Linked DNA regions of Homo sapiens: all the other regions are linked to region 5. The links are contacts of gene promoters, found by promoter capture Hi-C in blood cells and fetal thymus (Javierre and others, 2016). All regions are on one chromosome and are shown on one strand. Each heading gives the region's core, a stretch centred on a gene start or on the middle of the fragment in contact. The rest is flanking DNA. Distances are from core to core; before and after follow the strand shown.

The links. The method cuts DNA at HindIII sites, captures the fragments that hold promoters and counts their contacts. A CHiCAGO score of 5 or more calls a contact.
Region 1: a fragment that was not itself captured here is called in contact with the fragment with the promoter of DNAJC8 in region 5 in 1 of 17 cell types (M2 macrophages); the score reaches 7.6 in M2 macrophages.
Region 2: the fragment with the promoter of THEMIS2 here is called in contact with the fragment with the promoter of DNAJC8 in region 5 in 3 of 17 cell types (neutrophils, megakaryocytes and endothelial precursors); the score reaches 7.3 in neutrophils.
Region 3: a fragment that was not itself captured here is called in contact with the fragment with the promoter of DNAJC8 in region 5 in 6 of 17 cell types (M0 macrophages, naive CD4 T cells, M2 macrophages and 3 more); the score reaches 8.5 in M0 macrophages.
Region 4: a fragment that was not itself captured here is called in contact with the fragment with the promoter of DNAJC8 in region 5 in 3 of 17 cell types (M0 macrophages, M2 macrophages and M1 macrophages); the score reaches 7.1 in M0 macrophages.
Region 6: the fragment with the promoter of XKR8 here is called in contact with the fragment with the promoter of DNAJC8 in region 5 in 2 of 17 cell types (neutrophils and endothelial precursors); the score reaches 9.4 in neutrophils.
Region 7: the fragment with the promoter of PPP1R8 here is called in contact with the fragment with the promoter of DNAJC8 in region 5 in 2 of 17 cell types (M2 macrophages and M0 macrophages); the score reaches 9.5 in M2 macrophages.

The regions. Positions count from the first base shown.
Region 1 is chr1:27,760,344-27,763,043 of GRCh38, reverse strand. FAM76A (family with sequence similarity 76 member A) reads right to left here. Exons shown (of 9, transcript NM_152660.3): 9 at 1-2,549. The coding sequence ends at 2,463. Among named protein-coding and RNA genes, the nearest start is that of STX12, 12 kb to the left of the region's middle. The HindIII fragment of the contact is 2,005 bases long and covers 373-2,377 here.
Region 2 is chr1:27,871,112-27,873,811 of GRCh38, reverse strand. THEMIS2 (thymocyte selection associated family member 2) reads right to left here and starts at 1,268. Exons shown (of 6, transcript NM_001105556.3): 1 at 1,147-1,268. The coding sequence starts at 1,240. RefSeq lists a silencer at 1,151-1,420. The HindIII fragment of the contact is 18,992 bases long and covers 1-2,700 here.
Region 3 is chr1:27,853,060-27,855,759 of GRCh38, reverse strand. No RefSeq gene overlaps it. Among named protein-coding and RNA genes, the nearest start is that of THEMIS2, 18 kb to the left of the region's middle. The HindIII fragment of the contact is 5,873 bases long and covers 1-2,700 here.
Region 4 is chr1:27,805,935-27,808,634 of GRCh38, reverse strand. The region is part of intron 4 of STX12 (syntaxin 12); the gene reads right to left. Among named protein-coding and RNA genes, the nearest start is that of PPP1R8, 23 kb to the left of the region's middle. RefSeq lists an enhancer at 921-1,444. The HindIII fragment of the contact is 1,929 bases long and covers 374-2,302 here.
Region 5 is chr1:28,231,769-28,234,468 of GRCh38, reverse strand. It overlaps DNAJC8 (DnaJ heat shock protein family (Hsp40) member C8), which reads left to right and starts at 1,440. Exons shown (of 9, transcript NM_014280.3): 1 at 1,440-1,548. The coding sequence starts at 1,471. RefSeq lists an enhancer at 1,217-1,750. The HindIII fragment of the contact is 12,029 bases long and covers 1-2,700 here.
Region 6 is chr1:27,958,570-27,961,269 of GRCh38, reverse strand. It overlaps XKR8 (XK related 8), which reads right to left and starts at 1,297. Exons shown (of 3, transcript NM_018053.4): 1 at 908-1,297. The coding sequence starts at 1,200. It overlaps SMPDL3B (sphingomyelin phosphodiesterase acid like 3B), which reads right to left. Exons shown (of 8, transcript NM_014474.4): 8 at 2,118-2,700. The coding sequence ends at 2,432. RefSeq lists an enhancer at 793-1,356 and a silencer at 1,037-1,426. The HindIII fragment of the contact is 19,385 bases long and covers 1-2,700 here.
Region 7 is chr1:27,829,367-27,832,066 of GRCh38, reverse strand. It overlaps PPP1R8 (protein phosphatase 1 regulatory subunit 8), which reads right to left and starts at 1,285. Exons shown (of 7, transcript NM_014110.5): 1 at 1,176-1,285. The coding sequence starts at 1,231. It overlaps LOC124903885 (a long non-coding RNA gene), which reads left to right and starts at 284. Exons shown (of 2, transcript XR_007065562.1): 1 at 284-1,318. RefSeq lists enhancers at 236-1,020, 978-1,147, 1,021-1,806 and a silencer at 1,278-1,357. The HindIII fragment of the contact is 9,216 bases long and covers 1-2,700 here.

The DNA of each region.
Region 1 (2,700 bases), core at 126-2,625, 470 kb after region 5:
AATGTCCATTATTACAAACATACAAAGAAACAAAAGGTGTTACCAAAAGTTAGCTACTCAATTTCATGGTAAAACAGTGTCATGATTTTTAAAAATCAAAATTTCAAGACTGAGGTTTCTTCTTTCCCTTTTTGGAACTTATGGAAAGTTAGAAAACGTGTGAATTTGCTTTATATTAAATGCCAAGACCTTAAAAAAAGATTTAGTATAAAACTAAGTATGTTTTTATATTGTCATACATCATGTAACAGAATTTCAGTCCTTAAAATTAAAAAAAAACACCATGACTGTCATTTCCCCCTAATTTTTCTCCCATAGTCAATGCAAATGCATCTGAAAAATATTATGACAGTTTATCTTTACCTAAAAGCTTCTCATTCAAAAACTTTACAAAACTATTTAGCACTGCCATTTCCCTTGCTTAGAAGGGAAAATTATATCCCCTAGTAGGGTGATATATAAGCGACATGGTCCACTGTATCCCTTATCAGAAGGAAACCACCATTTCCACATCTCTGTCCAATTATGTGTAGGACTCCATTTATGAGAATGCTATCACAAATTATAGAGCATCTGCTTCCAGGAAACGCCTAGAAGTTAAATTTAGTACTATAATTTTTTGGTAGACTGAGGTACAAATGTTATCTGCCCTCATTATTATTTCTAACTCTAGTACCCCCTGCATAAATGATTCTAGGGTAGTTGGTTTTGTTGTTTCATGGCACACATGACACACCCTAATTCCTTTCACAAACATCACATAGAGGACCTGAGAGTATGCCTAGAAATGTAAATCTATCCCCTTTCCTGGAAAAGTAAATCCATATTCCTACAGGGTTAAGAAGGGAAGATAGGCAGGGCATACATAACTCTGGTTGAGGCAAAGTGCTTCTGAGAAGCACCTGTTTTCAATACATATCCATGAAAAGCAGGGAGTGTATGGGCTCGGGTGGGTGAGGAGTGGGGAGAAGGTATAGTGATACCACTTTTCCCAGACTCAAGAGTCCTTACTAGAGCAGCTCATGCTGACCCCAAAAATGCTCTGTAGTTCAAATATTATTCCTTTTTTTTTTTTTTTTGAGACGGAGTCTCACTCCATTGCCCAGGCTGCAGTGCAGTGTTGCGATTTCAGCTCATTGCAACCTCTGCCTCCCGGGATTCGAGCAGTTCTCCTGCCTCAGCCTCCTGGGTAGCTGGGATTACAGGTGCATGCCACCAGGCCCGGCTAATTTTTGTATTTTTTTAGTACAGATGGGGTTTTACCATGTTGGCCAGGATGGTCTCAAACTCCTAACCTCAAATGATCCACCCGCCTTGGCCTCCCAAATTGCTGGTATTACAGGCGTGAGCCACCGCACCCGACCATATTATTCCATTTTTAATCTGTTCATTCATGTAAAAAAACATTCTCTGACAGCAGCCCAGTATGACAACTGATATAAGCAAATAAAGGATTTTATTTTTTAAAGAAGTGGCAGTGTGAGAATTTAAAATCAATCACATAAAACAATCAGGAAAGGGGTGGGGAGAGAAGTGTCCAGTACAACCTGGACAACCTTGCTTTCTGCCCTTACTTAAAAAGACAGACGGTTCAAATCTTTGCTACCTCCCTTAAGTATCTCCATAAATGCTCTTCCAAGAAATCCTCCAAAAGGCACTTAGCTCCATACTTATGCATTGAATTGTTTCACCTTAGCAATCAGTTTTTAAGACTCCAAGGTAACAAGAAAGAAAAGATCTGATTCTTTTACTAAAAGCTAGTGAATAGGACTGTTTTTTTTTCAAGAGGCATCACTTTTACAAGAACTAGCTAGACCACCATTATTCCTTTATCAAGAAAAAGTTTCTTTTTTAAAAAATAAATAAAACTCTGGCTATACATAGTACAAAGTTCATACATAATACATCTGGAAAAAAACCGAAGAGTATACCCTGAAGCAAAAGGTTTATTGGAGAGAGAAAGCCTCTTCCATTATACCAAGTCTGAAGATGGCAGTTTTCAAAGTTCAGAGGGTGGCAGTGATATATAATTAATGCCAAACTGTTTGCTCATGGGTATGGCAGGATGCAATGAAGGACCAAAAAAAAAAAAAAAAACAAAAAACAAATCATTCTGCACATTACACTGAGCAGTGACCACCACAAAAAAAAAAAAAAAAAAAAAAAGAAAAAAGAAAAAAAAAGAATAGAACCAAAATAGAGAGAAGAGGAAGAAGAAAAAGAAAAGTCCTAATAGTGAGAGAAAGAGAGCGAGCTTGAAATCCCAAACACTCAAGCATGCAGTCTAACACAGCACAAACCAGGTGTTTCCATTCAGCCCACTGCAATCGCACAAAGAAGGATAACTGTAATAAAATAGAGATTTCTTAAGAAAGCTTGCAATTCCCACAGAACAGCCAGGTCTCCAACCCTAACCCTGGACAACTCCATTTGCTGTTGCTAGGGAGCCTCCTTGAGGTCTGTCATGGAGAGGTTATAGCTCCTGACTTCTCTGACTTCTTGCTCTTGGACAAAGCAGCTGCCTGCTTCAGGAGCTCTCGGTTTTTGGCCTAAAGAAAAAAAAAATCAGTGCAAGAAGGATGTTTCAAACAGGATATAAGCTATTTTTCATGCAGAGTAAGTGCAGATGCTAAGGCAGACAATGTGGAGGGTCAGAAAGAGATGAACAATTCTAGAGGTGGAAAACAACAGGAAGCTCTA
Region 2 (2,700 bases), core at 19-2,518, 360 kb after region 5:
ACAGGTGTTGTAACACCAGCAGGCAAAGGGTGCTGGGAGGACGAAGACGCTTGGTCCTGGGCTGGGGGAAGAGCAAACAGATCCCAGGCGCCTTCCTGCAGAAAGCCCCTGGAGGTAGAGTCAGAATTTGAACCCAGATCTGCCAGATTCCCAAGCAGACCTGGAGAGACCCACTGCGAGGTGGTGGCCCCCTGCGGGACCCTTCATGAGGGACCTCCTTGGTCTAGGACCCCACTTGGGACCTCAAACACTCTGCTGGAAGCTGCTGCGACAGAGCGTTTTTCTGCAGCCAGGGAACAGGATGGGGCAGGGCCTTCAAGCCTCAGTTCGCTCTCTAAGGAAGGAACCCGCACCCCCACACAGCATCTCTCTCCTCCACCTCCATCTCCCCTACTCGGTGGCCCACGGGTCCTCCCTGCCCACAGAGCAGCACTGGCCACCCATCCACTGTGCTGTCTTACCCTGCCCTCCACTGTCTGTTATTCCCTCACCGCTTGCTCCTTCAGGCAATGACTAGTGACTGTGCGCCTGCTGTGTGCCCATCCCTGTGAACCAGGCCGCTGCGGGCAGACGGCAGATGTACGGGGGCGTGCAAGGAGCAGAGAGCCAGGAAGGCTTCCGGGAGGAAGCGCCATTTAAGCTGAGAACTGAAGAGCTGATCAAATCAAGTACTGCCCATGGTCAAACAGAAGGCCAAGGTGGACGCAGGGACTGAAGGAAGGCAGTGTAGAGGAGGGCCGGGGGAGGAGTGGGAGGACACAGACGGGAAGACTGACCCTGCACTTCAGAATCAAGACGCAGCCACGACCACCAGCGGCCTAATGCTGCGTCCCGGCGCGGTCGGAGCTCTGTCCCATGCGCACCGCGGGGCCACCTAGGAGTGGCCCGGCTGCATCCACCTCCCGCGCCTCAACCCACTGACTTTTCATCACTACCCTGCGGGGCAGGTCAGCGGTCCCCGTTCCACGAAAGCAAAAGCCGAGGTCCAAAGAGGTTGAGTGCGGCCCCAAATCACACAGCTTGGCCAGTGGCAGTGTCGGGATTTGAACCCAGGGGCAGTTTCCCCGGATTGCTAACGTCTTCTCCGGGTCTCTGCCCCCGCCCCACACCAAGGGAGTGCTCGGAGGGGTTCCAGCCCCCGCTCACCCTCGAAGTAGACCCCCGAGCAGACCCGCAGCACGCGCGGGAGGGAGGCGGGGTCCAAGGCGCGCACGAAGTCCTGCAGCGGCACCGGCTCCATGGTCCCCGCGGCTCTCTGGGCTCAGACTGAGGGGCGGGCGGGCGGTCCCCGGGAGCCCTGCAGCCCCGCCCCGCCGATGCCCCGCCCCGCACGCCGAAGCCGCCCCGCCAGCCCGCGGGAGCCCTGCAGCCCCGCCCCGCCGAAGCCCCGCCCCCCGCCCCCTGCAGTACCCTATGGGGAAGGGGCGATGATGAAGATGAAGAAGTCCCAGACGCCCCCTCAGCAGTGCTCCCAGTTAGAAAAAGGGGACGCGGCCCGACTTGTTCTGCGTCTCATAGGAGGGACATGCCTCTGCCCTTTGGGTTTGAGGAGGGAGATGTAGTGTCAGGGCTCCCGAATGTCCCTCCAGGACACTCCATGGTCCTCTATCGGAAACCTCCTGGTGAAGGGGATCTCATTACCTCTCCAGAACTCCCATACTCTTTCGATAATTATTGTCTACGTTGGCCTCGAACTCCTGGACTCAAGTGATCCTCCCACCTCGGCCTCCCAAAGTGCTGGGATCACAGGTGTGATCCACCTGTGAGCCACCACGCCGGGCCTCACCAATTCTAGTTAAAAATTCTTCCTAAGGCTAAAGAGAAATCTGCTTAGAAGCCGGACCAACCACTTATCCTGACCCCACAGGCTCGGGATAAGCCTTTTCCATTTCCCTGTCCCTCAGGAGTCAGACCAACATAGGTTCAAATCCCAGGTCTCCTCTTGCTCGTTGTATGACGTTAGGCAAATCACTTTGATTGTGTGAACCTCAGTTTCTTACTCTCTAAAACAGGGAGAAGAGGGCCGGGCGCAATGGCTCACGCCTATAATCCCAGCACTTTGGGAGGCCGAGGCGGGTGGATCACCTGAGGTCAGGAGTTTGAGACCAGACTAACATGGTGAAAACCCGTTTCTACTAAAAATACAAAAAAACCTAGCCAGACGTGGTGGCACACACCTCTAATCCCAGCTACTCGGGAGGCTGAGGCAGGAGAATCGCTTGAACCTGGGAGGCAGAGGTTGCAGTGAGCCGAGATTGTACCATTGCACTCCAGCTTGGGCAACAAGAGCAAAACTCCGTCTCAAAAAACAAAAACAAAAACAAAAAAACAGGGAGAAGAGGCTGGGTGTGGCCTGTAATCCCAGCACTTTGGGAGACTGAGGCAGGAGGATCACTTGAGACCAGGAGTCCTAGACCACCCTGGGCAAACTAGCAAGACCCTGTCTCTTAAAAAAAAGAATAAAATAAAATAAGGCCAGGCGCGGTGGCTCACGCCTATAATCCTAGCACTTTGGGAGGGTGAGGCGGGCAGATCTCCTGAAGTCAGGAGTTCAAGACCAGCCTGGCCAATATGGCAAAACCCTGTCTCTACTAAAAATACAAAAAAATTACTGGGCACAATGACTCACGCCTGTAATCCCAGTACTTTGGGAGGCCAAGTTGGACAGATCACCTGAGGTCAGGAGTTCGAGACCAGCCT
Region 3 (2,700 bases), core at 155-2,654, 380 kb after region 5:
GTTGCAGTGAGTCGAGACCGTGCCACTGTGCTCCAGCCTGGGTGACAGAGCAAGACTCTGTCTCAAAAAAAAAAAAAAAGAAAAAGAAAAAAAATGCATGGCATAACCTTCTCATCAGGAAGGACTTCATCTCAGCTATATCTAACATACTTTAACACACTTCCAGTAAGTTGTTCAGTTTGGACATCTTTTAAAGAACTACAAAACAGGCCAGACTCGGTGGCTCACGCCTGTAATCCCAGCACTCTGGGAGGCCAAGGCAGTTGGATCACCTGAGGGCCGAAGTTCGAGACCAGCCCGGCCAACATGGTGAAACCCCGTCTCCACTAAAAATACAAAAACTAAAGGGTGTGCCACCTATGGACCAAGCATATCCCCACCTTAAACTCTGGATTCAGACTAGAGTTTCAATCCTGTCTTCAGTACAGGGGGCTCATAGGGAAGTTTGTTTAGTCTCAGTCTCAGTTTTCTCATCTATAAAATGGGGATAAAAACAGAATTCCTCTTGGGGCTATGAGAATTAGATGACGTGCTGTAAATGGATACATGGTAGGTAGGTAGGCAGGTGCTTAGTGATTGTTCACCACTACCAACAGTACCATCTTCACTAAAACGAGAGGAAGGTATTGTCCTGATGAGGACACTCATTTTTTTTTTTTTTTTTTTAATTTATTTTTTTATTGATAATTCTTGGGTGTTTCTCACAGAGGGGGATTTGGCAGGGTCATGGGACAATAGTGGAGGGAAGGTCAGCAGATAAACAAGTGAACAAAGGTCTCTGGTTTTCCTAGGCAGAGGACCCTGCGGCCTTCCGCAGTGTTTGTGTCCCTGATTACTTGAGATTAGGGATTGGTGATGACTCTTAACGAGCATGCTGCCTTCAAGCATCTGTTTAACAAAGCACATCTTGCACCGCCCTTAATCCATTTAACCCTGAGTGGACACAGCACATGTTTCAGAGAGCACAGGGTTGGGGGTAAGGTCACAGATCAACAGGATCCCAAGACAGAGGAATTTTTCTTAGTGCAGAACAAAATGAAAAGTCTCCCATGTCTACTTCTTTCTACACAGACACGGCAACCATCCGATTTCTCAATCTTTTCCCCGCCTTTCCCGCCTTTCTATTCCACAAAGCCGCCATTGTCATCCTGGCCCGTTCTCAATGAGCTGTTGGGCACACCTCCCAGACGGGGTGGTGGCTGGGCAGAGGCGCCCCTCACCTCCCGGACGGGGCGGCTGGCCGGGCGGGGGGGGCTGACCACCCCCACCTCCCTCCCGGACGGGGCGGCTGGCCGGGCAGAGGGGCTCCTCACTTCCCAGTAGGGGCGGCCGGGCAGAGGCGCCCCTCACCTCCCGGACGGGGCCACTGGCCGGGCAGGGGGGCTGACCCCCCCCACCTCCCTCCCGGACGGGGCGGCTGGCTGGGTGGGGGGCTGACCCCCCCACCTCCCTCCCGGACGAGGCGGCTGGCCGGGCGTGGGGCTGACACCCCCACCTCCCTCCTGGACAGGGCAGCTGGCCGGGCGGGGGGCTGACCCCCCCACCTCCCTCCCGGATGGGGCGGCTGGCCGGGCGGGGGGCCGACCCCCCCACCTCCCTCCCGGACGGGGCGGCTGGCCGGGCAGAGGGGCTCCTCACTTCCCAGTAGGGGCGGCCGGGCAGAGGCGCCCCTCAACTCCCAGACGGGGCGGCTGGCCGGGCGGAGGGCTGACCCCCCCACCTCCCTCCCGGACAGGGCGGCTGGCCGGGCGGGGGGGCTGACCCCCCCACCTCCCTCCCGGACGAGGCGGCTGGCCGGGCGTGGGGCTGACCCCCCCACCTCCCTCCCGGACGAGGCGGCTGGCCGGGCGGGGGGGCTGACCCCCCCACCTCCCTCCCGGACGAGGCGGCTGGCCGGGCGTGGGGCTGACCCCCCCACCTCCCTCCCGGACAGGGCGGCTGGCCGGGCGGGGGGGCTGACCCCCCCACCTCCCTCCCGGACGAGGCGGCTGGCCGGGCGTGGGGCTGACCCCCCCACCTCCCTCCCGGACGAGGCGGCTGGCCGGGCGTGGGGCTGACACCCCCACCTCCCTCCTGGACAGGGCAGCTGGCCGGGCGGGGGGCTGACCCCCCCACCTCCCTCCCGGATGGGGCGGCTGGCCGGGCGGGGGGCCGACCCCCCCACCTCCCTCCCGGACGGGGCGGCTGGCCGGGCAGAGGGGCTCCTCACTTCCCAGTAGGGGCGGCCGGGCAGAGGCGCCCCTCAACTCCCAGACGGGGCGGCTGGCCGGGCGGAGGGCTGACCCCCCCACCTCCCTCCCGGACAGGGCGGCTGGCCGGGCGGGGGGGCTGACCCCCCCACCTCCCTCCCGGATGGGGCGGCTGGCCGGGCAGAGGGGCTCCTCACTTCCCAGTAGGGGCGGCCGGGCAGAGGCACCCCTCACCTCCCAGACGGGGCGGCTGGCCGGGCGGGGCGCTGACCCCCCCACCTCCCTCCTGGACGGGGCGGCTGGCCAGGCGGGGGGCTGACCCCCCCACCTCCCTCCCGGACGGGGCGGCTGGCCGGGTGGGGGGGCTGACCCCCCCATCTCCCTCCCGGACGGGGTGGCTGGCCGGGCTGAGGGGCTCCTCACTTCCCAGTAGGGGCGGCCGGGCAGAGGCGCCCCTCACCTCCCGGACGGGGCGGCTGGCCGGGCGGGGGGCTGACCCCCCCACCTCCCT
Region 4 (2,700 bases), core at 89-2,588, 430 kb after region 5:
GGCTCATGCCTGTAATCCCAATCCCAGCACTTTGAGAGGCCGAGGTGGGCAGATCACTTTGAGGTCAGGAGTTTGTGACCAGCCTGGCCAACATGGTGAAACCCCGTCTCTACTAAAATACAAAAATTAGCCAGGCATGGTGGTGGGTGCCTGTAATCCCAGCTACTCGAGAGGCTAAGGCAGGAGAATTGCTTGAACCTAGAAGGCAGAGGTTGCAGTGAGCCAAGATCGTGCCACTGCACTACAGCCTGAGTGACAGAGTGAGACTCCCTCTCAGAATAAATAAATAAATAAATAAATAAATAAATAAATAAATAAATAAAAAACAAAGCAAAAATGGTAAAAATCAATGTATTTTCATTTTTAAAAAGCTTACCCTTTTTATAATAGCAATACAGGACAAGCAAAATGAAAAGAATTTCAAATTTCTATCCACTCAGAGGAACACTGTGGGTTTTTGGTTTGTTTTTTTCTTTTTACTTTATCTTTTTCCCCAGATCAAGAAATAACATTGCCAGAGTCCTAAAAGCCTACTCATGTGCCCTTCTCCAATCACAACTCCATCCCTCCCTTTTAAAGTATCTATTATCTTGACTTTGTGAAAATCATTTTCTTGCATTTTAAGAATAGTGAGCTATATTCTTATTCAATATCATTTTGCCTGTTTTTGAACTTTACATAAATGGAATTATACTGTTTATATTCTTTAGTGCTTTTTTTGAATCATTCCAGATTATGCCAGATCCATCTCTGATACTGAATGTAACTGTGGTTCAATCATTTTCTTTGCTGTATGATATTATAGTATATGAACATAACACAATTTATCCATTCTACAGTTGACAGACATCTGGATGTTTCCAATTTTTGACTACTACAAACAATGCTGCTATGCACATTCTTGTACATACATCCTGGTATAACACATACAGGTTTCTCTAGGGTAGAATTGCTGGATCACAAGGTCTGCATGTGTTCTGAAGATACAGCCAAAATGTTTTCCAAAGTAGTTGTTCTAACTTATACCACCGGCCAGATAAAAAAGTTCCTGTTGCATCATATCCATAATGACAACTCCCAGTGTTCACAGAATTTTAAACTTCTGCCCTCCTGGTGGGCATGAAATAGTATTTCATTGTTATTTTAATCTGTAATTTCACCATTACTAAAGAAGCTGAGTACCTTTTCATTTGTTTGACCATTACTCAAAATAATACTAACGTGTTTATTTGCTCCATGAGTGTAAATATCAACAGGACGGAGCAAAAGCAATGGTGGGGGACTGGTGGCGGGGAAGTGGGGATGGTTAATGGGCACAAAAAATAGGAAGAATGAATAGGACCTAGTATTTGATAGCACAAATGGGTGACTATCGTCAATAATAATTTAATTATATATTCAAAAATAACTAAAAGAGTATAATTGAATTGTCTGTAACATAAAGGATAAATGCTTGAGGGGATAGACACCCCATTTACCATGGTGTAATTATTACACATTACATGACTATATGAAAGTATCTCATGTACCTCATAAATATATACACCTACCATGTGCCCACAAAAATTAAAAATTAAAAAAAGGCAATGGTAGTGATATGGTTTGGCTCTATGTCCCCACTCAAATCTCGTCTCGAATTGTAATCCCAACGTGCGAAGGGAGGGACCTGGTGGGAAGTGATTGGATCATGGGGGTGTTAGTGTTCACGTGTTAGTGAGGGAGTTCTCATGAGATCCGGTTGTTTGGTAAGTGTCTGGTATTTCCCCTGCACTCTCTTTCTCTTTCTCCTGCCACCATGTAAGACATGCCTTGCCTCCCCTTAGCTTTCTACCATGGTTGTAAGTTTCCTGAGGCCTATCCAGCCACGCAGAACTGTGAGTCAATTAAACCTCTTTTATTTATAAAGTATCCAGTCTCAGGTAGTATCTTTATAGCAGTGTGAAAATGGACTAATACAGATAGATAAAATGGCTGAAGGCAGTGGCACCGAATTGCACTAGTATTATTGTATTCTTCATCACCACACACTCACCGTATTTTAAAAGCCAATGTATTCTTGAAGCCATACAAATTATTAATTAAACCTTGACCCCTCAATACATATCTTTCTACTATTCTGTATTGTGAAATGGGAAGTGCACATAAAGTACTTCTGCTGCATAAAGAAATACAATGTCTGTCTCTAGGAAAAGCACTTGTGTAATGGAACTGCAGGCTGAACTAGCCACTTTTTTTAGGGAATACCATTTTTACTTATTCAATATAGTTTTATAAGAACTTACTAAAAACTTATTTAAAAGCTTTAAAACTTTCATAAACGTATACATATAAACTTTTCAGATGGGTATTTGGCAGACAACTTGTTGAAAAGAAGTATGAGCCTGTCACTTCAAGGAAAACAACAGAGGGTGTTTGTTGCCAATGACAAAAATGTAGCTTTCAAGTAAAAATAAAAATAAAATTTCGGAAGACTTGTATCTACCATTGTAAGAGTTTCCCAATATTTAAATACTTTTCTGGTGAAACTGATGGAAATATGTATTTTTTTATATTGTAAAATGAAATGTATCGACATTTGGAAGAGCTGCATAACTCAGGGAACCAATACTATCCAAATGATAAATACATGATGCTATAAAAATCATGCATGGATAAAAGATCCAATCAAAGTATAATATAGACCAACAGATGTTAATGTAA
Region 5 (2,700 bases), core at 191-2,690:
TACCTGATTGATGATTATAAAAATACCTTCTTTGGGGCTGGGCGTGGTGTCTCACACCTGTAATCCCAGCACTTCGGGAGGCCGAGGCGCATGGATCATGAGGTCAGGAGTTCGAGATCAGCCTGACTAACTCCGTCTCTACTAAAAATACAAAAATCAGCCGGGCGTGGTGACATGCGCCTGTAATCTCAGCTACTCAGGAGGTTGAGGCAGGAGAATTGCTTGAACCTGGGAGGCGGCGGTTGCAGTGAGCCAAGATCATGCCACTGCACTCCAGCCTGGGCAACAGAGCAAGCCTCTGCCTCAAAAAAACAAAACAAAACAAAACCTTCTTTGTTTTCTATGAAATAGTAAAACTGGCTTTATTGATTATATTTTAGTTGAGAAAATAGCAGCCCTACCTGGTATTTTGTTTAATTCCATTTATGTGAAATACGTATTCACATATTGTTTAACTCCATTTATGTGAAATATCCAGAATAGGTAAATCCATATAGATAGAACACAGATTGCTTGTTTTCAGGGACTGGGGAGAGGGGGCGAATAGGGAGTAACTGCTTAATAGGTACTAGGTCTCCTCGGCCAGGCGCGGTGGCTCACGCCTGTAATCCCCGCACTTTGGGAGGCCAAGGCGAGCGGATTACGACGTCAGGAGATCGTAGACCATCCTGGCCAACATGGTGAACATCCGGCTTTACTAAAAATATAAAAATTAGCGGGGCATGGTGGCGTTTGTCTGTAATCTCAGCTACTCGGGAGGCTAAGGCAGAATTTCTGGAACCGGGGAGGCGCCACTGCACTCCAGCCTGGGTGACAGAGTGAGACTCCGTCTAAAAAAAAAAAGTAGATACTAAGTCTCCTTTTGAGGTGATGAAACTATTTTGGAACCAGGTAGACATGGTGGTTGCAGAACATTGTGAATGTTCTGAAGACAGCTGAGCCGGTCCGGCGCGGTGGCTCATGCCTGTAATTCCTGTACTTTGGGAGGCCTGGGCAACATGGCAAGACCCCGTCTCCACAAAAGTACATAAAATTAGCCGGGCATGGTGGCGCGCGCCTGCAGTCCCAGCTACTCGGGAGGCTGAAGTGAGAGGATCGCTTGAGCTTGGGAGGTCGAGGCTGCAGTGAGCTGTGATTGCACCACTCGACTCCAGCCTGGACGACAGAGATCCTGTCTCAAAAATAAATAAATAAATAAACCCACTGAATTATTCACTTTTTCTTTTATTCTTCTTATTATTTTTTACCTAACAATAACTTAAGCACATTATTTACTTTAAAGTGGTTAATTATATGTTATGTGTAATTCGTTTAAATTTTAAAAAGCCCACCTACTTTTAAAGTGCCTGGCTGGGCTGCGAGCCCTTTAAGAACCTCTCAGACGGGAGGCGGGGCTAGAGGAGCGGACCTGTAAGAATCACGTGAGGCGACGCCTGCGCAGAAGGGTCACGTGGTGGCTGGGCCGGGGAAATGGCGGCTTCAGGAGAGAGCGGGACTTCAGGCGGCGGAGGCAGCACCGAGGAAGCATTTATGACCTTCTACAGTGAGGTGAACACAGAGTGAGGAGTAGTGGCACCGGGGCGACCGCTCCCGGATCTGCTTTCCCAGTGGACAAAGGCAGTGGCCGCCTGGCCTGGACCGTTGGGCGATTCCTTCAGTCCAGTCTTCGGGGTGGCGGGGGTCTGGGGGTGTGTGAGCGTCTCCCACTGATAGCTGCTGGGAGATCCCCCGGGGCAACGAAAGAGGGAATGGTGTTCGATCTATCGAGGGAGGTGGCGAGTGTGTCCAACATAGTGCGGGCGCGCGGGCAGAGTGCCCCAAGTCCGCGGAGTCGGGGGCTGGCAGAGGCTGGGCCCTTCCTGGGAGTGACTTAGCCTTCTTGGCCCCCGAGACGTTTCTTAGTCCTTTGTAATGAGTTGTTTTAGTGGTTGTTTCTGCCATTCACGAACGCCAGGCACTGTGTATCATGCCAGTTAGGCATTATATTACCCCCATTTTACAGATGACGAACCTGAGCTTTAGGGAGGTGAAATAGTTTGGGGCCTTACAGTAGGTTACAGCTTGCTTGGTGGTATGTTAGGACAGCAGTGGGCTTGTTCTGAGCCTCCTTTACTATCGCATCTCCAGCGCATAGTATGTAGTGGATGCTCAGTAAATATTTGTTGAGTGAATGAATGAATAAATGAAATAAAAGCATGCCGTTTGGAGTCAGAATCTCAGATTAAATTATTGCAAGGGGCTGGGCACAGTGGCTCACATCTGTAATCCCAGCACTTTGGGAGGCCCAGGCGGGAGGAACCCAAAAGCTCGAGGCTGCAGTGACCTATGATCGGACCACTGCACTCCATTTTTGGCGAGAGTGAGACCCTGTCTCTTTAAAAAGAAGGAAAAAAAGGATAGAAAAAAAAATTCTTGGTTGGGCGCGGTGGCTCACGCCTGTAATCCCAGCACTTTGGGAGGCCGAGACGGGCGGATCACGAGGTCAGGAGATCGAGACCACGGTGAAACCCCGTCTCTACTAGAAATACAAAAAATTAGCTGGGCCTGGTAGTGGGCGCCTGTAGTCCCAGCCACTCGGGAGGCTGAGGCAGGAGAATGGCGTGAACCCGGGAGGCAGAGCTTGCAGTGAGCAGAGATCGCGCCACTGCACTCCAGCTTGGGTGACAGAGCGAGAGACTGTCTAAAAAAGAAAAAAATTCT
Region 6 (2,700 bases), core at 48-2,547, 270 kb after region 5:
GGCTCCACCAGGTCCAAAAAGGAGCAGAATCCACACACATTTTCCAGGACCCAGCCTATGCCCAGCCCTGGCTGGCTCCATGGGCATGGATGAGTCAGAGGCCATCTCTGCCCTCTTGCTGGGTCTGGGGTGGGAAGCCAAGTTTCAGGGGGAAGAATACAACCAGGCAGACAGGGTGAGAGGCGGCCTTTGTGAGGGGCAAGCGCTGTGGTGGGGTCAGGGCTGCTGAAACTCCCAGGGAGGCCCAGGTCAAGAAGCCAGCTGAGGTTGCTGAGTGCTCACTCTGAGCCAGGGCAGTGGACAGATGTCATTTCACTGCATCTTCACCAAACGGGCAGGCGCTATCCCCATCCCAATGGGAACAGCAACCAAACAGCCCCACTGAGAGGTCAGTGACTTCCCAAGGCCCTGCCCATGCTGAAACATGGGATGCTGAACTGAGTCCGCAGCCCCTGCCATTACAGGCCAGGCACTGTGCGAGGCACTTTCTCATTCTTTCGCTCACTCTTCACAACAGGCCTGCCCGTCACACCTGTCTCAGGGTGACTACCTCCTTTCTACGCAGGAGGAAACTGAGGCTCAGAGAAATGCAGAAGTGAGGCGAGAGGGGGCAAAGCCAGAAGTGGATCCCTGAGAGGTCCGACTTCAAAGCCCATGCGCCTCCCTTTCTTCCCTGGGCCTCAGTTTCTTCGCCTGTGCCAGGAAAGCTAGGGCTAGAATGAAGGCAGTCTACCGGGATTCCCTTTCCGTAAAGGGCTGCACGCTCACCTGTAGGCCAGGCGCCCACAGGACTTGGTTCCCTCTCCCAGTCCCCTTCCCGGCATATGGCGTGTCACCTGTACAGGTGACCCAGCTGACGGAGGTGCTGGGCTCCGACACTCCTCCCCTCCCGGGGCGAAGCACTCACCTGTACAGGTAACCCAGCTGCAGGAGATGCAGCAGCGCCAGGCAGCGGCGCGGGGGCTGCGACCCGTGCAGGCCGGCAGGGTCAGCGCGCAGCCAGAGCCAGCTGAAGAGCTGCAGCGCCACGGAGGCCAGGCCCAGCAGCGCCAGCACCAGCGCCGCCCACAGGTAGCGGCCGCCGAGCGCATACTGGACGGCGGCCCACAGGTCGGTGCCCAGGTCGAGCAGGAAGGCGGCGGTGCCCAGCACGCCCAGGACCAGGTCCCGAAGGAGGGCGCCGCGGGACGACCAGGGCATGGCCCGCCGGCCTCCGCCCTCTCCTGCTCCTCCGCGGTTGGGGCCTGCCCTCAGGGCCCGGGGTTGCCGAGGCAGGAAGGAGGTGGGCGCAGCCCTCGGGGCGGCCCGGGGCCTGGGCCTGGTGGGCGGGACTTCCCCGTCCCGCCCCGTCCGGGGAGGAGCGAGGCCCGCGGTTGTCCCAGGTCCTCCGCCCGAACCCCAGCTAAAAGCCGCTCGATGCTCTGCTCCCGCCGCCAGCCCAGGGGTCCACCGACCCAGCCCAGCCAAGCCCGCTAGGCCTGAAGACCGACTGCCCTTCGCTTCGCAGGCTTCAAATGGCCTAGTTTTACCTTTGAGGCGCCCGGAGGCCCAAGAAAGCGAGAGGGCGGGGAGACTAGAGCCTGGACCAGGGCTGCGATCCCTCACACCTGTATTGTTGCAAAACAAAACGAAACGCAAAGGCACATTCTAATCCCTAAGTGCGAGACTTTGCAACAACGCGTGCGCCTCGATCCAGGGATACCCGGAGAGCACGGGGCCGCTGGGTTCACGCCAGCGATCCGAGTCGGGGGAGGGCGGGCGTTAGGTTCCTGCAAATGAGTTAACCTCATTTCCATACGGAAGGGAATAGAGGCCGGGCGCGGTGACTCACGCCTGTAATCCCAACACTTTGGGAGGCCCAGGCGGGCGGATCACCTGAGGTCAGGAGTTCGAGACCAGCCTGGCAAACATGGCGAAACCCCGTCTCTACTAAAAATACAAATTAGTCGGGCGTGTTGGCGCGCGCCTGTAGTCCCAGCTAGGAGGCTGAGGCAGGAGAATCGCTTGAACCCGGGAGGCAGAGGTTGCAGAGAGCCGAGATAGCGCCACTGCACTCCGGCCTGGGCGACAGAGCGAGACTCCGTCTCAAAAGAAAAGAAAAGGAACACAACACAGAATCAAACGCATGATGAGCTTTGTTTTGTGAGTTAAACATAATACGCAAAAGAAGTATGCTTGTAGGGGGGTCTTGGGTCGTCATTTCTTTTCTGTTTCTGGTTTGTTTTTGGAGAGAGTCTGGCTTTGTCACCCAGGCTGGAGTGCAGTGGCGCGATCACGGATGGCTGCAGCTCCTGGGGCTTCGCTTCCTGATTCGGTTGTCCTATTTCAGTTCACTCCTCAGGCGCGGAGGAAATGGTGGAAGGCCCAGCTCTGGGTGATCCTGGGCGCTGCCCCCGTTACCCGTTACCAGGAAGAAGGTGAGCCTGGCAGGTCACAGCACGAGCGTGCACAGGCCCAGCAGGGCCATCAGCAGCAGCGGGAGCTGGGGCACGGGCGTGGTGCCAGAGGCATACAGACAGGTGGTGTAAGCGTCAATGTCCACCTGGCGCATGGCACACACGTGCTGCATGCTGCAGGCCTCGTCGCAGACCCCAGCAGAGTAGCTGACTGAGTTATAGACGTAGTAGCGCTGCAGTGTGCTCTGGTCGCCAGCGATGCGGTCCAGCACTGTGTGCATGGAGTGGGCGCTGGCGTCCGGCA
Region 7 (2,700 bases), core at 36-2,535, 400 kb after region 5:
CAGTGCTTTCTAACTATGTTTGCTATCTCGGCCCAAATTTGAAATCAATACAGCGAGGGATCAAAATGGATACAGAATTTGTAGACTGAAGCAACTACTACAAAAGTGCAAAGCGATCCAGAAAATAGCCACACATTTGCTTGCTTTTTGGGTTTGCTAATTTGAAGTTAGAAAAAAGAACCACCTCACTAGAACCTTTAGATTTGCACATGAAAAAACGTATCCTTGTCTAGCTAACTGAAGATTCAACACAGTCATCTCACAATCCTGCCCCAACCCCTCCTCTATGGAAAGGACAATGCACCGGACAAAAGGCCATTTTGTCCAGGAAAAAGGAGGAATGTTACATCCAAAACATACTTTCTGAATTCCTACTATGTGCCTGACTCAGGCCTAGGAGCTGGGAATACAAAGATGCAGTCTTTGCCCTTGAGGATGGCAATACAACGGGAGACAGAGACAAGCAACAAACAATACACTGCGATGAGCTACAGCAGAAAAAAACTCTTAATTCAGAAGCGTTTCCTTGTAAGGTAATTCATATTTATTCAACTTGTACCCTACTCAAAGACCAAATTAAATTATTTCATTATTCCCAAGAACTTTCGAAGGGATAAAAAGGGTTCATGCCAACCATTACTAATGCCTACTAGTGCCACAGACTGGGAGCTCCCTGAGGGCAGGGATGGCGCTAACCTACCCTCGTATTCTCTGTGGCAGACAGACAAGTGCCGCACGAGGGATGCAGCAACCACAGAGGGATGCGGGGCTTGGAGGTAGGGTTGGGGCCGGGGCTGGCTCGAGCGCGCTCGGGACGTACAGGAAGGGGCCAGATGCGATGCTCCACGAGAGCACCAGGCACTCAGTCAAGAGTTGGGCGTAAGTTCGGGCCAAGGCCTCGAAGCGCTCCGGCGACTGGCTAATCGCTCAAAGGGGCTGCCTAAGTGAGCGCCTTTGAGCCCCCAACCCCGGGTTTCTTCAGTTCCTGGGCCTGGGCTCCAGGCTCTCGGTTCTTCAACACGTCGCCCGGCCCGGTGCAGCAAACAGTTTTTCCTCAACCATTCCGGGGTTTCTGAGCCGTTCGGCTCGCAGCAGAAAAGTAAAAAAAGAGCCGCCCTTCCAGCCCAGGCTAGCTCCGGCCGGGCCACTCTAGCCCTGGCCGCCCCGCCACTCACCAGGTTGGGCAGTCGAACAGCGGGAGGCTAGAGCCGGAGTTCGCGGCTGCCGCCATCTTGCGTCTCCCCCTCCCATTTGGCGCGCCCTAAGCACGCCGGGAAACTGGAAGACCGAGAAGGGAAAAGCGGCATCCCAGCAGCCTGTGCGTACGCACGCTCACGCACGCCCGTACGGGGGGCGGTGCTTCTAGTGGGGACAGAGGAGCTTTTGGGATTTTTTTTTTTTCAGCGTTTGTGCGAGTTGGCCGTCTCTGGAAGTCTCCAGTGGTTAGGGTTTTCCTTGGCCAGGAGGTGTCAAAGGAAAAGGGGCTTTGTAGGGAGGGGAGTCAGTCTTTCCCTACGTCCTCCTGCAAACGCTTCTTGGCTCTAAAATCTTGGGACTAAGCCGTGCGCGATGGCTCACGTCTGTAATCCCAGCACTTTCGGAGGCTGAGGCGGGCGGATCACTTGAGGTCGGGAGTTTGAGACCAGCCTGACCAACATGGTGAAACCCCGTCTCTACTAAAAATACAAAAATTAGTCGAGTGTAGTGGCACATGCCTGTAATCCCAGCTACTTGGGAGGCTAAGGCAGGAGAATCGCTTGCACTCGGGAGGCAGAGGTTGCAGTGAGCCGAGATCGCGCCATTGCACTCCAGCCTGGGCAACAGAGCGAGACTCCGTCTCAAAAAAAAAAAAAAAAAAAGTAAAGAAAGAAAAAATCTGGGGACTACATCCTCCTCCAGAGTTTAGGTTAAGACCGTCAGCCTTTTGCCCTCAAAGCGGAGAAGCTAAAGGGCAAAACTCGGAGATTGGAGTGATTATTGTTTCTCTTCAGCCCTTCTCCAAAAAGTGGCACCCTACTCACTTTTTTCTAATTCACGTTTAGGCCTGTAGATTGTCAGGGAATCTGCATTAGGGGTCACCTAGTCTGTTTATGAAAACTCTGGACAAGCAGGAGCCAGGAGCAGGTCCAGTCAGAAAGCAGGGGTCCAAATCATCACTGTGCTTGGCTCAAATGGTTAATTTTTTTAAAAAGGATTTTTTGCTTTTGGTTATAGGGCAAGGAAGCATAAGGATTGCTCGCTTGCCCTAGATCACCAGCTGGTTTTAAGAGACCATTAGCAGGGCCTCTGGTTTTTTATTTTTTATTTTTTTATTGATCATTCTTGGGTGTTTCTCGCAGAGGGGGATTTGGCAGGGTCATAGGACAATAGTGGAGGGAAGGTCAGCAGATAAACAAGTGAACAAAGGTCTCTGGTTTTCCTAGGCAGAGGACCCTGTGGCCTTCCGCAGTGTTTGTGTCCCTGGGTACTTGAGATTAGGGAGTGGTGATGACTCTTAATGAGCATGCTGCCTTCAAGCATCTGTTTAACAAAGCACATCTTGCACTGCCCTTTATCCATTTAACCCTGAGTGGAGAGAGCACAGGGTTGGGGGTAAGGTCATAGATCAACAGGATCCCAAGGCAGAAGAATTTTTCTTAGTACAGAACAAAATGAAAAGTCTCCCATGTCTACTTCTTTGTACACAGACACAGCAACCAT